3 separate regions of the Homo sapiens genome follow, and regions 1 and 3 are each linked to region 2. The links are contacts of gene promoters, found by promoter capture Hi-C in human tissues and cell types (Jung and others, 2019). All regions are on one chromosome and are shown on one strand. Each heading gives the region's core, a stretch centred on a gene start or on the middle of the fragment in contact. The rest is flanking DNA. Distances are from core to core; before and after follow the strand shown. Region 1 holds the start of LOC105378228 (a long non-coding RNA gene). Region 2 holds the start of SMIM3 (small integral membrane protein 3). Region 3 holds the start of LOC124901108 (a long non-coding RNA gene).

Evidence for each region. Contacts are between HindIII fragments. The study calls those that stand out against the background at their distance.
Region 1: a fragment that was not itself captured here is called in contact with the fragment with the promoter of SMIM3 in region 2 in 1 of the 25 tissues and cell types used here (H1 embryonic stem cells).
Region 3: a contact is called between a fragment that was not itself captured here and the fragment with the promoter of SMIM3 in region 2, in 1 of the 25 tissues and cell types used here (aorta).

What each region holds. Positions count from the first base shown.
Region 1 is chr5:150,995,633-151,000,382 of GRCh38, reverse strand. LOC105378228 (a long non-coding RNA gene) reads left to right here and starts at 4,194. Exons shown (of 3, transcript XR_007059002.1): 1 at 4,194-4,246. RefSeq lists a silencer at 3,543-3,709. The HindIII fragment of the contact is 5,174 bases long and covers 1-4,750 here.
Region 2 is chr5:150,777,274-150,781,979 of GRCh38, reverse strand. SMIM3 (small integral membrane protein 3) reads right to left here and starts at 3,223. Exons shown (of 2, transcript NM_032947.5): 1 at 3,008-3,223. It overlaps LOC124901110, which reads left to right and starts at 1,579. Exons shown (of 2, transcript XM_047417995.1): 1 at 1,579-2,073; 2 at 2,429-4,706. The coding sequence starts at 2,859. The coding sequence ends at 3,500. RefSeq lists an enhancer at 1,840-2,701 and a silencer at 3,139-3,328. The HindIII fragment of the contact is 12,753 bases long and covers 1,598-4,706 here.
Region 3 is chr5:150,614,434-150,619,091 of GRCh38, reverse strand. LOC124901108 (a long non-coding RNA gene) reads left to right here and starts at 2,260. Exons shown (of 3, transcript XR_007058996.1): 1 at 2,260-4,112; 2 at 4,381-4,534. It also overlaps a transcript of SYNPO not described here. RefSeq lists a silencer at 2,776-2,963. The HindIII fragment of the contact is 4,717 bases long and covers 1-3,640 here.

The DNA.
Region 1 (4,750 bases), core at 1,325-3,824, 220 kb before region 2:
GATTTGGAAGCTGAGAAGTCCCGGGAGAGCAATCTGAGTCTGAAGAACTAGGAGAGTCAATGATATCAATTCCAGTCATAGTCTGAGTCCGAGGGTAGGAGAAGACAAATGTTCCAGCTAGAAGAGTGTCAGGCAGAGAGAAGGATGAGGGCCACCCACACTGGGGAGGGCAGTCTGCCTTACTTAGTCCACTGATTCAAATTCAAATATTAGTCTCGTCCAGAAAATCCTCACAGATGCACCTAGAAATCGTGTTTAACCAAATATTTGGGCATGCTGTGACCCAGTCAAGTTGACGCATAAAACACAAAAGGCTTCTCAGTTTCTGTCTTAAAGCTAGCCAAATGCTGATGCCAAGGTCTACAATGCATGCAAAAACACAAGGAAAAGCAAACGCTAGAGTTAGTGGCACAACACATTCATGTTTTCAGTCTTCATCCCTTGGAGCCTGACCTGTTGGAGTTGGCTCCTTGCCTGGATTGAGGCTGCAGCTTGTACTAGCTGTGCTTCTGGGCAGTGGTTATACCCTGGAGCATTGCATCCAGGCTTCGAAGCTGAGGCAGTGTCCTGGTCCTGGGGTTTAGACTGAATCCATTGCCTGTCCCTCTTCTGAGTCTTCAGAATCCTCCAGAGTGGAAGAAGGACTGCAGTGGGTAACATCAAGCACATTTCTTGCTTGTGTCTTGCCTCCTTGCTGTGCCTTGTTCTGTAAGCAGACCCTGTGGGAGTAGGGAGCACAGGGGAACAGGTGAGCAGATGGCCAGCTGACCATTTGGTGTCAAATTCTCCCTCTTCATACACCACAACCTGACACAGCTTTTCTGCCTAGAATATCTGTTAACAACCTCCTCCAGTCCAAGAGGCTTTGAACCTTAGGGGTGGCAAAGTGTCCTCACCATACCCTAGCCCTGAGACCCTATGACTTTAAAGCTTATTAACTGCCTCCATTCCTACATCATCAGCAGAGGCTCAGGGCCCAGCTATTTCTGTGGACAGGTATTCACAATCCTAAAATTCTGACTGATATTGTTATCTTCAGGCTCGGACTTCATTCTTTTCTACCTATTTGAAGCACATACAGACCCTATTGGGACATCAGTATAAGCAATAAAAATCTCTCATTTTCAGACAGTTATCCTGAACCTCCCTCAATGTGTCGATCTCTTCTACTAATCCCCCCAAAGGCACCCAAGCCCCTGGGTGTTGGATCTAAAAATCACCACCACAGGATGTCTCTCTTCCTTGTTCCCAAGACTTCCAAGTGCATCCCCATATCCGAGGACTTCACTACCAATTTTTTCACCCACTACATTATCCCACAGGAGTCCAGGGCCCTATCTGGATTCTAGAAGAGGCTATTTCCTTGTTGATCTAGGAAGGTTTTTTGCTTTCTCTTCAATCCAGTGCTCCACTTCTCTCTCCTTCTCATTCGAGCCTAATACTCATCAACAGATACTGTTTGGTCTGGAAGATTATCTGGTCTTACACGCAAATCTGGAAGGAAGGAATACTGGCATTTGAGGCCTCAGCTCTCTCTCCATCCCTCCACAGCTAGCCTAATGGCAGAGTCCCTTGGATACCAGTGAGGCAGGAGAATAGGAAACCTAAGGCCATTTCACGCTGACTTCGTAGAACTACATTGAAAGGAAAACCCTAACTTTCCATGCCTAAGTAACAAAAGGACCAGAGGCTACTCTCTTTGCAAACTCCCACCTTTTCTGCATGGCAGATGGTTAATTGAAAGTACCTCTGGGCCAGGCGCAGTGGCTCACGCCTGTAATCCCAGCACTTTGGGAGGCTGAGGAGGGTGGATCACGAGGTCAAGAGATCGAGACCATCCTGGCCAACATGGTGAAACCCTGTCTCTACTAAAAATACAAAAAAATAGCCGGGCGTGGTGGCGGGCACCTGTACTCCCAGCTACTCGGGAGGCTGAGGCAGGAGAATGGCGTGAACCCGGGACGTGGAGCTTGCAGTGAGCCGAGATCGGGCCACTGCACGCCAGCCTGGGTGACAGAGAAAGACTCCGTCTCAAAAAGAAAAAAAAAGAAAAAGAAAAAGAAAATACCTCTGATTGGTTGCTTTTGGCAACCAGGCGTTTGCCTAAGAGTGTAACTTTGTAACTTCACTTCAGCCTCTGATTGGTTTCCGTCTGCAAACAATCAGACTGATTGGGGGCCACCACTTTATTTACATGGCGTGAACACCAAGTGGCCAATGGGAAACCTCCAGCGGGTATTTGGACCCAAGAAGATCCTGTATCCCGGCCCTTGAGTGGCTGCTTGGGCCTGCTCCCACTGTGGAGTGTACTCAATAAATCTCTGCTTTTGTTACTTCATTCTTTCCTTGCTTTGTTTGTGCATTTTGTCCAATTCTTTGTTCAAAATGCCAAGCACCTGGACACCCTCCACTGGTAACATATTTTGGTGAGCCAGCCAGGAGAAGGTAAGCCCAAAGTTTGGGATTTATTTTTCTCCTTTCCCTTTTTACATACAGGGAAATCTCTCTCTCTCTTTTCCTTTCCCACTCGGGACCCTTGGTGAGCAGCGTGTAAACATGGAGGTAAACTGCAGGTTTCTGGCCATGGCTGGTGAATACTAAGGGGTTTTCATGTGAAGAAGCCTAACCGCCACCACCTGGTTTGCCTAAGGGACCTGGGTCTTTTTCTTTTTTTTTTTCCTTTTCTTCTTTATTGGTCTTTTAGCAGCTGTTTCCTAGTAGCTCTTTGGAAATTGAGGGAAATTGGCTGGGATCAATCCCCAATATTGCCTGAAGACCATGGAGTGAATGGGGATAATTGCCCTGCCCAGAAGGGAGAAGGACTCTTTTTTAAATCTTTTCTGGGTGTGGTCCCTGATCCCTATGTGTGGCACAGCTCAGAGCAAACTCGCCTGTTTCAGGCAACTTAAACCTTTTCTTATGCGTAATTCTTCCGTTTCCCTAGTCAACTGGCTAAGAGCAAAAGAAACACATCCAGCCTCCAGTTATTAAGTTCATGGAATGGGAAACATGGGAAAGTGTGGCCTTATCAAATTATAAGGATGCTAAAAGTCAAGGCCTTCATCCAGGGACAAAATGAAAGCTCATAGTAGGCCATTCCCTTTAGAGGGAAAACATGCAAGCAGGACTGGTGCCCACCTAAGGTCAGAGACGTCTGACACTCTTAAGATTGGGCCCCACTAGGGGAAGCCCCAGAGGGGAATCCTCCGGACCTCAACCTCTCCAAAGAGGATGCCCTTGGCAGAGGTTCTGAGGTCTAGTATTAAACTCTCCTTAGAATTTTATCTCGCAGTTGCAATGCTATTTGGCCCCAATATTGTTTGGAATGCGGAGTTTACTGTTGAATGGAAAACTGGGATGGCATTGCCATTGCATATATCCAGGCTTTGGTGCTGCTATTCTAAGCAGAGGGCCTGGTGAAAGAGTGATGTTCTCCTTTGGTACTGTTTGGTCTTAGTGTTCTTTGGAGTCTGGGGAGGTTTCACCTTTAAAAATCAAACTGCTAGGGCCAGGTGCAGTGGCTCATGCCTGTAATCCCAGCACTTTGGGAGGCCGAGGCAGGTGGATCACTAGGTCAGGAAATCAAGACCATCCTGGCCAACGTGGTGAAACCCCATCTCTACTAAACTCCATCTCTACTAAAAATACAAAAAATTAGCCAGGCGTGGTGGTGCGTGCCTATAGTCCCAGCTACTCAGGAGGCTGAGTCAGGAGAATCACTTAGACCCGGGAGGCGGAGACTGCAGTGGGAGCTGAGATCACGCCACTGCACTCCAGCCTGGGCAACAGAGTGAGACTCTGTCTCAAAAACAAAAACAAAAAAAATCAAACTGCCATCTGGGCACGGTGGCTCACGCCTGTAATCCCTGCACTTTGGGAGGCCGAGGCGGGCAGATCACGAGGTCAGGAGTTCAAGACATGAACAAGGCCAACAAGGTGAAACCCCATCTCTACTAAAAATACAAAAATTAGCTGGACATGGTGGCACGTGCCTGTAATCCCAGCTACTTAGGAGGCTGAGGCAGGAGAATTGCTTGAACCAGGACCTGGGAAGCAGAGGTTTCAGTGAGCCGAGATTGCACCACTGCACTCTAGCCTGGGCTACAGAGCAAGACTCCATCTCAAAGAAAAAAAAAAAAAAGAAAAAGAAACAAAAAAAATCAAACTGCCATGGAAATTGCTTTACCCAAAATTTTGGTTCACAGCCTTCATTGCATTACCTACTGGGGCAAACAAAGTAAAACCGGTAAGCTTGTGTTGCTATCTCATGGCTAGGGTTTCAAGCTATTAGATCTTCATTTGTGTGTGTGTATACATGTCTAGATGTGTTTATTTGTATGTACACTTATATGTTATGTTTGCCAAATTGGCTTATAAGTAAAAGAGCGCTCATAAATTAATAAGCCTAAGCGATTTTTAAGTTAAAGTGACTTAAGTATAACTTTACTAAACAAGCTGGCTTTAAAATTATTGGTAGAATAAAAATAGAAATGCCTTCAGAATTGTCAGCATACATTTTGTCTGGATTTTATGTTTGTGTTTGCTAAATATTTTGAGATGTCAATGTTTGGCATAGAATGTTATAAAACTACAAACCCAGCCAAAACAAAATGTGCCTTTTTTTTTTGACAAATAAGAGCAATTTAATGTTAGCTACGTCTTCTGAGTTATTGGCAAAATACTTATATATTTAATTCTGAGACTCTCAGGTTTAGGTGAGCACTTGATATTCACTGGCTATTAGAAACAT
Region 2 (4,706 bases), core at 1,974-4,473:
CAGAGCTGTGTAAGACCGCACGTACCATCTGACCCAGCCAATCACAGAGTCTTAGAAACCAACAGAGAGCTAGCAGAGGAGAAAGCCCAGGCCAAATCCCCAGCATCCTGTTTAAGGCACTACTATCCATCATTGCTATTTGCCAGTGACTAAGTGCCTGCTGTGTGTCGGGCTAACAAAGGAGACTGTCCATGAGAGGTGCTGGCAGGGTGCTCCGTGACAGAGCTGCAAGAGCACCGGGCGGTGGTAGTGCCTTGCCTCAATGTGTGAGCCTCAACAGGTCGCTCTCCCAAAGTCAGCCTCATGTGTGTGGAAAGCAGAATAATGCCCACCACCACCACCACCAAAGACATCTATGTCCTGGTCCCCAGAATCTTGAATATGATCCTATATAGTGGGTCACTAGCAAGAAACATATCCAATCAGCCAATCAGAGTGCAAATCAATAAAATAAGGAAGCTCTATCTATACACAACTAAGCAATTTAAAGTATATGGTTTAGACGTGGAATCTAGCTTGCTGTTGTTTAATGTGCCAGGCAATTATACTTCTGAGCAGTTCCCCTTCCTAACTACCTAATTCTTAGCCTTTACTGCTAGATGTCTCCATTATCTCTTGAGGTTCACCTTCTGTTTCCCTAGTGAGTTGGAAGGATACTAGGTCTCTAGGGATCCACTAGAACAGTGACTATCAAATTCTCACTTAACTTCTCTCAGGTCACCCTGAAAGTAAGTGACAGAGGCAAGATCTGAACCTAGTTCCCCCCAATTCCAATGAAGTTCAGAGAATAGGCCCTGGAGCCAGGGTGCCTGCGTTCAAATTACAGCTCTGCCACTTACTTTCTGTGTGATCATGGGTGAGTCACTCTCTCTGGACCTCAGTTTCCTCATCCATAAAATGGAGGTGATGACAGTCCCTCCCTAATAGGATTGTGGTAAAGCCTAAATGAGTTAATACAAGTAAAATGCTTAGAGTCATGCCTAGCTTATAGTAAGTACTCAGTAAATGGCAAGTATGATCATTATAACATCATTCCGCTTACTGGGCCAGTCAGGGTGGGGGAGGACAAGGCAGGGTGTCGCAATGCCAACACTTACTCCTATACCTCAATAAACTGTGTTTGTGAGTACACGTGCCCATTTTTTATACCACCGCCACACCCAACCAAGATATTCTCTTTCCTTGGAGGTATTTCCTTTGCATGTTTCAATCCATAGAGAAGAAATGGAGGCACAACGTTTAAAGGATTGGCGTATGGCTGAGAAAGCATCTGAGGCTGTGACTGGCCCTTATCCCCTTGGTCTGTCACCCCCAAGGGCCCAGGATCTGACCTGACCACAGGCCCCCAGAGTCTCTCATTTGTTTTGCATCTCTAACACCTCACCGCGACTCAGTGGTTCTCTGGCTGTTCTCTGGGACTCCCCAGATCTTTAGTGTCATGGAGCCACAGTTCTGAGGTTCGGAGAGGTCACTTGTGGGAGAGTTCATGAAGCATGACTTGTAACCCCCACAGCATGATTCACAGTCCCAGGACAGCTGGGAACAGGAGGTCCCGGCTGGAGCAGGAAAACACTTTTTAGTTTTTTTCAGTTGTCACTGCAGAAGCACATGATGTCCTAAAGCTCAGCTGTGCTGCTTTGCGTGTGTCTAGATGGCTGCTGTGCGGCCTGCATAAACCAAAGAGCATGTCATGCTCAACCACAGACAAACATCTGTTCCACTCCCATGTCTTCATTTTACAGATAGGGAAGACAAGGGCCAGAGAGGGGAAATGCCTCCATTAGGGTAATTCAGAGGGTCTCCTAACCCCCAGAGTACCTGTTCTTCCCGCTCCCACCTCCACCTAATTCAGGCATCCCCAATCCTTCCAAACTATGTGGCCACTGCAGTAGCAGCACGCATCATAGCAGATGTTCAAGGAATCTCTGATACTTGTGTGATTGCGCAGCCTTCACCACCACACCCTGGAGCTTTGAGGACCTTAGTATTCACCACAGATGAACCGGAGACTCCTCAGCCCCCAGGTGCAGCAGGATTCCAGCTGGTCCAGAAGAAACAAGTGCAGCTGCATAAGTAAGAGCCCAGCCTGGCCCTCAATCAGAATAACAGCCCCTGAGGTTTGTTTCAATTTGTGGGGGGGGCGGGGGGGGTTACACCTTTCATCCTTTCACTCAGTACATATGTATGGAGCACCTACTGTTAGCCAGGCCCTGCTCCAAGAGCTGAGAATGCCTCAGAGATGACGATAGACAGGCAGTCCCTACCCTCAAGAAACTGGCATGGGGGAGACTAGGGAGCAAAACAACCAGCAACTGGAACAACTACGTCCTCAGGAAAGGGACAGCTAACCAGCAGGAGGGAGCTTGAAGGAAGCCTTCTCTCCAAGATACTTTGCTCATGTCCTTTCTCCTTTGCTTTCTGCACGCAGAAAATGTTTTCCCAATTTCACTGATGGAAAAACAAGGATGGTGAAGCAGTTAGTGACAGAACCAGGGCTGGAACCCGCCACTCCTGACTCCAAACTCCTGGCGCCTTCTACACGGGGCCTCGAGAAAAGCGGGACAGGTAAGTGCAAAGACCCAAACCCAGCGCAGCGCCCAAGCAGGTGCTCAGGCCCGGGCGCTGAACCCTGACGCTGGGCCTGGAGAGCCAGGAGGTGGCAGTCTGCCCGAGGAGGAGGCTTCCCGAGAAGGCAAGGGCAGCGGACCCGGAGAGAAGCCAGTCTCCGAGTGGGGCTGGGGTTCGCCCACCCAAGCTCCGCCTCCCCCAGGCCCAAAATTCTGTGCACTAGGAGGCTCGAACTTAAGAGCTGACAGCAGGAGAAAAAGGAGGGGGTGAGGGCAAGAAATACAAAAGTGATGAAAAGGGAGAAATGGGGAGGAGAGACCGGACATAAAGAAGAACGTTGGGAGCCCGGGGAAAGGGGCCGCACTAGAGGTAGGTCGCGAATCCGAAGAGCTCCGCTCTGCCAGAGCCCCACAAACAATCCCCCGGTGGCCCCACTCACCCCAGATGGCGGCGAGTCTGCGGAAAGTTCCTGGGTCAGGGATGGCTCGGTGCTTCTCAGGGTCCCCAGGACTGCACGGGATCTGGCAGCTGGAAGCGACCCCCAGGCCTGGAACCTCAGCCCTAGGCAGCTCCTGGAACGTGCCCCGGCTCCTCCGAGCCCCGGGAGGCGGGAGAGCGCAGGAGCGGCCAGGACGCGCTGCTGGCTCTGGAATGCGCGGCTGCTGGGGACCGCCCCCGGAACGCCCGGTCCCGGGGCCCCGGCAACTCCAGCTCAGCTCCTCCTCCAGCGTCCCCTGCGGGCTGCGTTCGGGGAGAAAGGAACCTGCGAGAGAAGGGAGAGACCAGGGCGTCTCGGGCTCCCCTTCCACGTTGCCACACACTCGCCGCGTAGCCGTGGACATGTCGCTTGGCTTCTGAGGGTCTCCCCTCTCTGGATTGTAAACCGAGAGGGTTGGCCTAAAATGTGTCCTCCACGACCTTTCCAGCTATAGAGTAGACATGGGAAAGAAAGCCTAGCAAGTAGGTTTGGACAGAGGAGCCGGGACTCAGATCCTGCTTTGCGATGTCCGAAGTGTAGGGTCCTTCGGAGGCTTTGCCACTCTGTTTCATTCTCTGTAAAGTGGGAAAGGTAACACCTGTCTCCCAGTCCTGTTGTGAGGATTGGTTTAGAGGACCAGTGTGAAGCTGGTTGGTTCTCTGCCATAACATGACTTGGAGCATCCTGTTTATTTTGTGATAACAATGAAATAGCCCAATCCAAGGTGATCAAGAGCCCATTAGAATCCAGCATCTGAGAGGCTTCCCACGCCACTGTGGGTGGCCCAGCTTCCACGCAGGACAATGCCAATTCTGTAATCTTCTGCCCCCTCTATGTCATCCATGGAGTGAGGGGGGACTCCCGTCCCATGTTGGCACCCACACTTTTTAATTCACAGTGGTTTTCTTTAATCTTACTCTTCTGAAAAAAAGGAGCACAAGCCTTGACTATCAGTGAGACCTTGAGCAGTCTTGGAGCCCAGTAGTGTTTTGGAGGGTTTGGAAAGAGCCATACTGCCTTCCCCAGGCCTAAATTTGATATGGTGTGGGCCCCGAACTTAGAACTTACTCCATGCTGTTTCCTCTGATTCAGGGATGAGGTCAGCAGAAATGACCTCTAAATCATCATTATCACACGCCAGTTTCTTAAGGGAAGGACAGTGAGGATGAAGGGGATTCACATGAGAAATGATTTGAGAAAAACCCTAAGGGCTGTCACCCAACAACATGTTTTATTCAAAAGAGATAGTGTGGGAACCTAAAAACAAGGACAACCCAATTCTGAATAGTTTAATACAAAGCTCTCATTTAATAGTAAAAAAAGATTGAAGGAGGACAATCTTTTTTTTTTTTTTTTTTTTTTTTGAGACGGAGTCTCGCTCTGTCGCCCAGGCTGGAGTGCAGTGGCATGATCTCGGCTCACTGCAACAGGAGGACAATCTTAATATGACATTTTCCCTGGTTAGTGAAGGGGATGAGAGTTCCTTTGGGTGGACAACTGGTAACTCCATGTGCCCTGCTGTGAACATTGGCTTCCCTCTGGGACAAGGCAGAAGCTCAGGCCTGGAGCCAGCTGAGTCCTAGTCTCCCTTTCCATTTAGCAATTTATTAGTATCTCTTTAATATCGACTTGCCCTGGGACCCTAAAAGCAAGCCAGAAA
Region 3 (4,658 bases), core at 33-2,532, 160 kb after region 2:
CCGCTAATGATTAAAAGGCAGACGAGAGTGGGAAATGGGCATTTTTTTTTTTTTTAGCCAAGCAAGATAATGTGGCTTTCTCTCACTGCCTTCTCACGTGCCCTCTTTGGCAGAGAAAGGAGTGGGGTTAGATGTGGTGCAGCTGGAACTGCACGTAGCTCGCTGTCGCTCCTATCTCTCCACAGCTGTTAATCTGGGCATGCCCATGGGACTGTGATGAATTACTGTGGATCATGGAAAAATATGGTCAGGAGCCCTTGTACTAAGGACCTGGGGGGTCTCCAGTGACTCTGGTAGTCCAAGGGAAAAGGAACACAAGCTTACCTGGTTTCTGGGCCACTCTGGGCCCAGGGCCAGGGCTGGGGCTGGCTGTCATCATCTGCCCGGCCTTCACTACATCCCAGTCCTGGCTGGCCCTGTCGTCGTGCTGGGACGCCCCTTGTTCCTCTCTGGAGCAGCTGGGTGGTTGGATGCCCAGGGCTTTGGGCAGCTGCGGTGTCCCCTGGGTGACTCTGCAGGCAGAGTCGTCCCCACTCCTGCTGACCCCCTCATCCTCTTCCAGGTCGGTAGGCCCCACCTCTCCCTGCAGGCCCTCCTCACCGCTGCTCTCCTCGGCTTCCAGAGCCAGACACCTGTAGCTTCCATCAGGGATCTGGAAGGCGCAGGGGGTAGGCCTCCCTTCGCTGGGTGCAAGGGGCGGAGGTGGGAGGTGAGGACCCAGCATGGTGCTGTTCTTCCTCAGCGATGCAGGGAAGCAGGCTCCTGGGCCTGGGCCAGGGCCTGGGCTGGGGCCAGCTGTGTGAGCCCTGGTCTCTGCTCCTTACACAGCCTCCTCTGACTCTCTGCACTTTTGCCTTCCTCCGCTGATTCACAGAATTGGGGTGAGGTCTGGCTGAGACGAAAGATAAGTCCTTCCTGGGCTAGTGGAGTGGTGGACCTCCAATCCCTCTTCTTAACCCGTCTCTGGTGTGAGGCCGCTTTGGGGCAATCTATCGGCATAGGGAAGAAAGAAACAGCACATGAGAAAGCTCGCTTGGGGTTCCAGGCTGAATTTCTGAAGCCTGTTCCTCTTCAGGTGACCCTGAGAACTGGTCGGCATTTGGGGTGCAGGTTCCACACTTCCATAGGGAAGTGTTTCGAAAGCTCCAGTCATTTAACATCCTGGATTTTCACCACATCCTCATGCTACCTGAAACTTTATCTAATATTTTTCCATTAATCAACTTGAAATCACTTACTTCTATTACTTTAGAATTATCTTAAGCAATATTTGCAGAGAAACCACAAGTATATTGTGCTCAGTCCTTTTCCCCCAATGCACATTAAATAAATATCTAGTTATTTAACAACACGTATCTAGACACCACCTAGAAAGAATTCACTCATATCCCAGCAAAGGTACCTACACCACAGGAATCACAGGAGTGGTGTGACCTAAGATGCAAACTGGGGATAGGAGCCCTTGGAGGAGATTGTGCAACAAGAAACACTGTGCAGTCCGGGGGTGGTGGCTCATGCCTGTAATCCTAGCACTTTGGCAGGCCGAGGCGGGTGGATCACCTGAGGTCAAGAGTTCAAGACCAGCCTGGCCAACATGGTGAAACGCTGTCTCTACTAAAAATACAAAAATTAGCTGGGCGTAGTGGTAGGCACCTGTAATCCCAGCTACTTGGGAGGCTGAGGCAGGAGAATCGCTTGAATCCAGGAGGTGGAGGTTGCAGTGAACCGAGATCGCCCCATTGCACTCCAGCCTGGGCAACAGAGCAGAAACTCAGCCAAAAAAAACAAAAGAAGATGGTGCAGTGGTGTGCTTTCAGTTTCTGTGCCCAGGCTTGCAGTTAGAATCCTAGCTCTGCCATTTGTGTGACGATCAACAAGCCAGCCACAGGACCTCTCTAAACCTCCACTTCCCCGTCTGTAAAATGGGTATTGTAATATTTCTAACTTCGCATTGCATTGAGGATTACATGAAAAAATGCACGCAGAGGACTCAGCACAGTTTCTAAGCCATACCTTAATACATGTTGGCTGTTCTTTCATTCCACAAAAATTTCTTAGGATCCTATTATTTTTCAGACATCATAAAAAGTACTGGGGATATAGCAGAGGGATAAAGAAGCCTTAAAATGTGGTGAGGAGAGCTGTGAATGATAGCAGGAACAACAATAATCATTGTATGATTATTTATATAAATGTTAAGAATGATGATAATCCAAGCAAGAGGGAATGGAGGCTTTCTGTAAGGGGTGGTGAGGAGGGGGTAGATGGGAGAGATACTTGGGTGGAAGAACTGGCTGGGCTTGGAGGCAGATGGAGAGTGGGTGTGGAGAAGAGGGAGGAGCCTAGGATGCAGCCCAGGTTCCTAGCTCTGGTGACAGAGATTTTGTTAATAGAGATCAGGAATAAATGAGAAGGAGCAGCTGTTTAGTGGAGCAGGGAGATGAGTTAGGTTTTGGATTTCCAGGGGAGATGAGCAGTGGGCGGTTCCACATAGGGGTCTAGAGAACAGGGGAGAATTCCAGGCTGGGGACAAATATCTAGAAATCATTTGTGGAGGCAAAGGGTGGAGATGGGTGAGATGCCCAGGATGGGCAGGTAGTGCGTAAGACAGAGCAGATGGCCAATTACACTTGGGAGGAAACCCTAGAATCAAGGGATCTTGCTTAAAGACTGGATTCCGCTGCTACTTAGCTGTGTGAACTCAGGCAAGTGTGAACTCTCTTACTCTCACTTATCCTACTGCAAAATGGGGAGCAGTGAGAATCCTGAAAATTGTGAGAGTCTGTGGACATGAGTGACCTGAGGACCTGGACTGACCTCAGCTGCTGTGGTCACGCCTCCGCCCCCAAGCAGGGGTCAGGCACCTCCCACTGCAGCAGGCTGGGTCAAGGTCTTGGTTTCTGGCTGGGACTGTGCCAGGAGAGTCTGGCAGGCAGGCAGAGAGATAAGCGCATTACCAAGCCCCAGGGAAAATCAGAGCCAACCAGGGGAAAGGCAAACAACCATCCGGATCAGAAAGATAACCAGGCACCTGTTATAGCAGCCTCAGTGGCAGGGAAATCAGGAGAAAGAAGCCCACCTTCTGCCCCCCGGGGAAGAACAGAAGCACCTCTTCTATCTTGGGTCATTCACTTAGGTTATTGCCGTAATTTCTCACATCAACCCTATGAGAGAATTACCTTATTATTATCCCATTTCAGAGGTGAGGAAATTGAGGCTCAGATAGGTGAAGTGACTTCTTGCCTAAGGCACACAGCTAATAAGTGGCCAGGCTGGGATTCCAACCTAGCTCTGACACCTTGACCATGATGGTGGATTCAGAGACATGGAGGAGAGGCTCCAGGCCCTCATTCATCTCCAGGTGCTTTCTCACTCACCAGCTGCTGCCAGATTTCTGCCATTTGAGTTTCAAAGAATCTTAGAATCTCACAAAGGCCAGCAGCACTCAGAAGAGACAGGACTGTGAACTGGGGCAGGTGCTTTTCGCACTCTGTAGTCAGATTCCCGGAGGACACCATGGTGAGACTGAGCCAGATGATGCTGGAGGATCCGTCCAACTGTGGCATTGCAGGATCCCCTGATTCTAAGCACTTGGATACCCACCTCCGTCATCCCCCCACCGTAGAGCCAGATGGCCGGAGGCAGAAGGAGTGGGCGTGGGGAGGGGGCAGGGCTCCTCTGACTCCCCGCAGGGGCCTCGCCTCACTCTATCCCTGCTTCTGTTTTGATGTATTTGACGGTGGCCACGGTTTCCAGGAAAGAAGAGAGAGGCGGAAAAGTTAACTTTCCGCCACCCACACAAATATTTTTGGCCGGCGTTGTCTTCACGCTGCCAAGCCAGGAGGGAGGAGTTGGCAGGAGCACTCCAATTCAAGGTTCCCTCCCAAGGAGGAAGGAGGACTCCCAACCCAGTCGGGGAGCTTGGGCAGGCCCTATGCAAGCCTGAGCCCCACAGCACCCACCTCTGTGCAGGAGCTGTGGGGGTCGGGACCCGAAACAATAATAGCAGCTGCCACTAACTGAGCACCTGCTAGGTGCTGAACCCAGCCCTTTACCTGACACTCCTGCTGTGTCAGTGCAGTCTATACAGGAGGAAACTGAGGCACGGAGAGGTAAGTACTGTGTTCAGAGTCACACGGGTGGGAAATGGCAAAGCAGGATGTGAATGGAGGCAGCCAAGGTCTGTGCTTGTACTCACTGCTCTCAGCAGCTGCAGACTCCAGGGACCCCCACAGCTCCTGGGGTTGCTGGACTCAGCCATCGCTCAGATGGCCAACCCATCCATGAGGGCGGATCTCCTCTGTGGGTAGGAGAGCACCTGCTGCAGACTCCACAGACATGGGAGGGAGTCCTACCAACTTCTAATTCCATTTCCCCCAGATTCATGACCCTCATCTGGACACAAGCTCTAAAATACTTGAGCCTTGGCAGAAATGGCTGATAGAGTCCACAGAACACGCTGTCCTCATCTCAGAGAGGAGAACTCTGAACCCAGAGGGGAAGGATTTACCTGCAGTTGTATGGCAAGCCAGAGGTAGGCGCTGCACTGGAACGCAGGTACCCAGACCCTTAGACTCTAGCTCCTCACATAAGCCCTGCTCCCTCTGAGGGGTCAGCCTCCCCTTCTCCCTCCCCTTCACCTCTGCATGAGTCCAAGC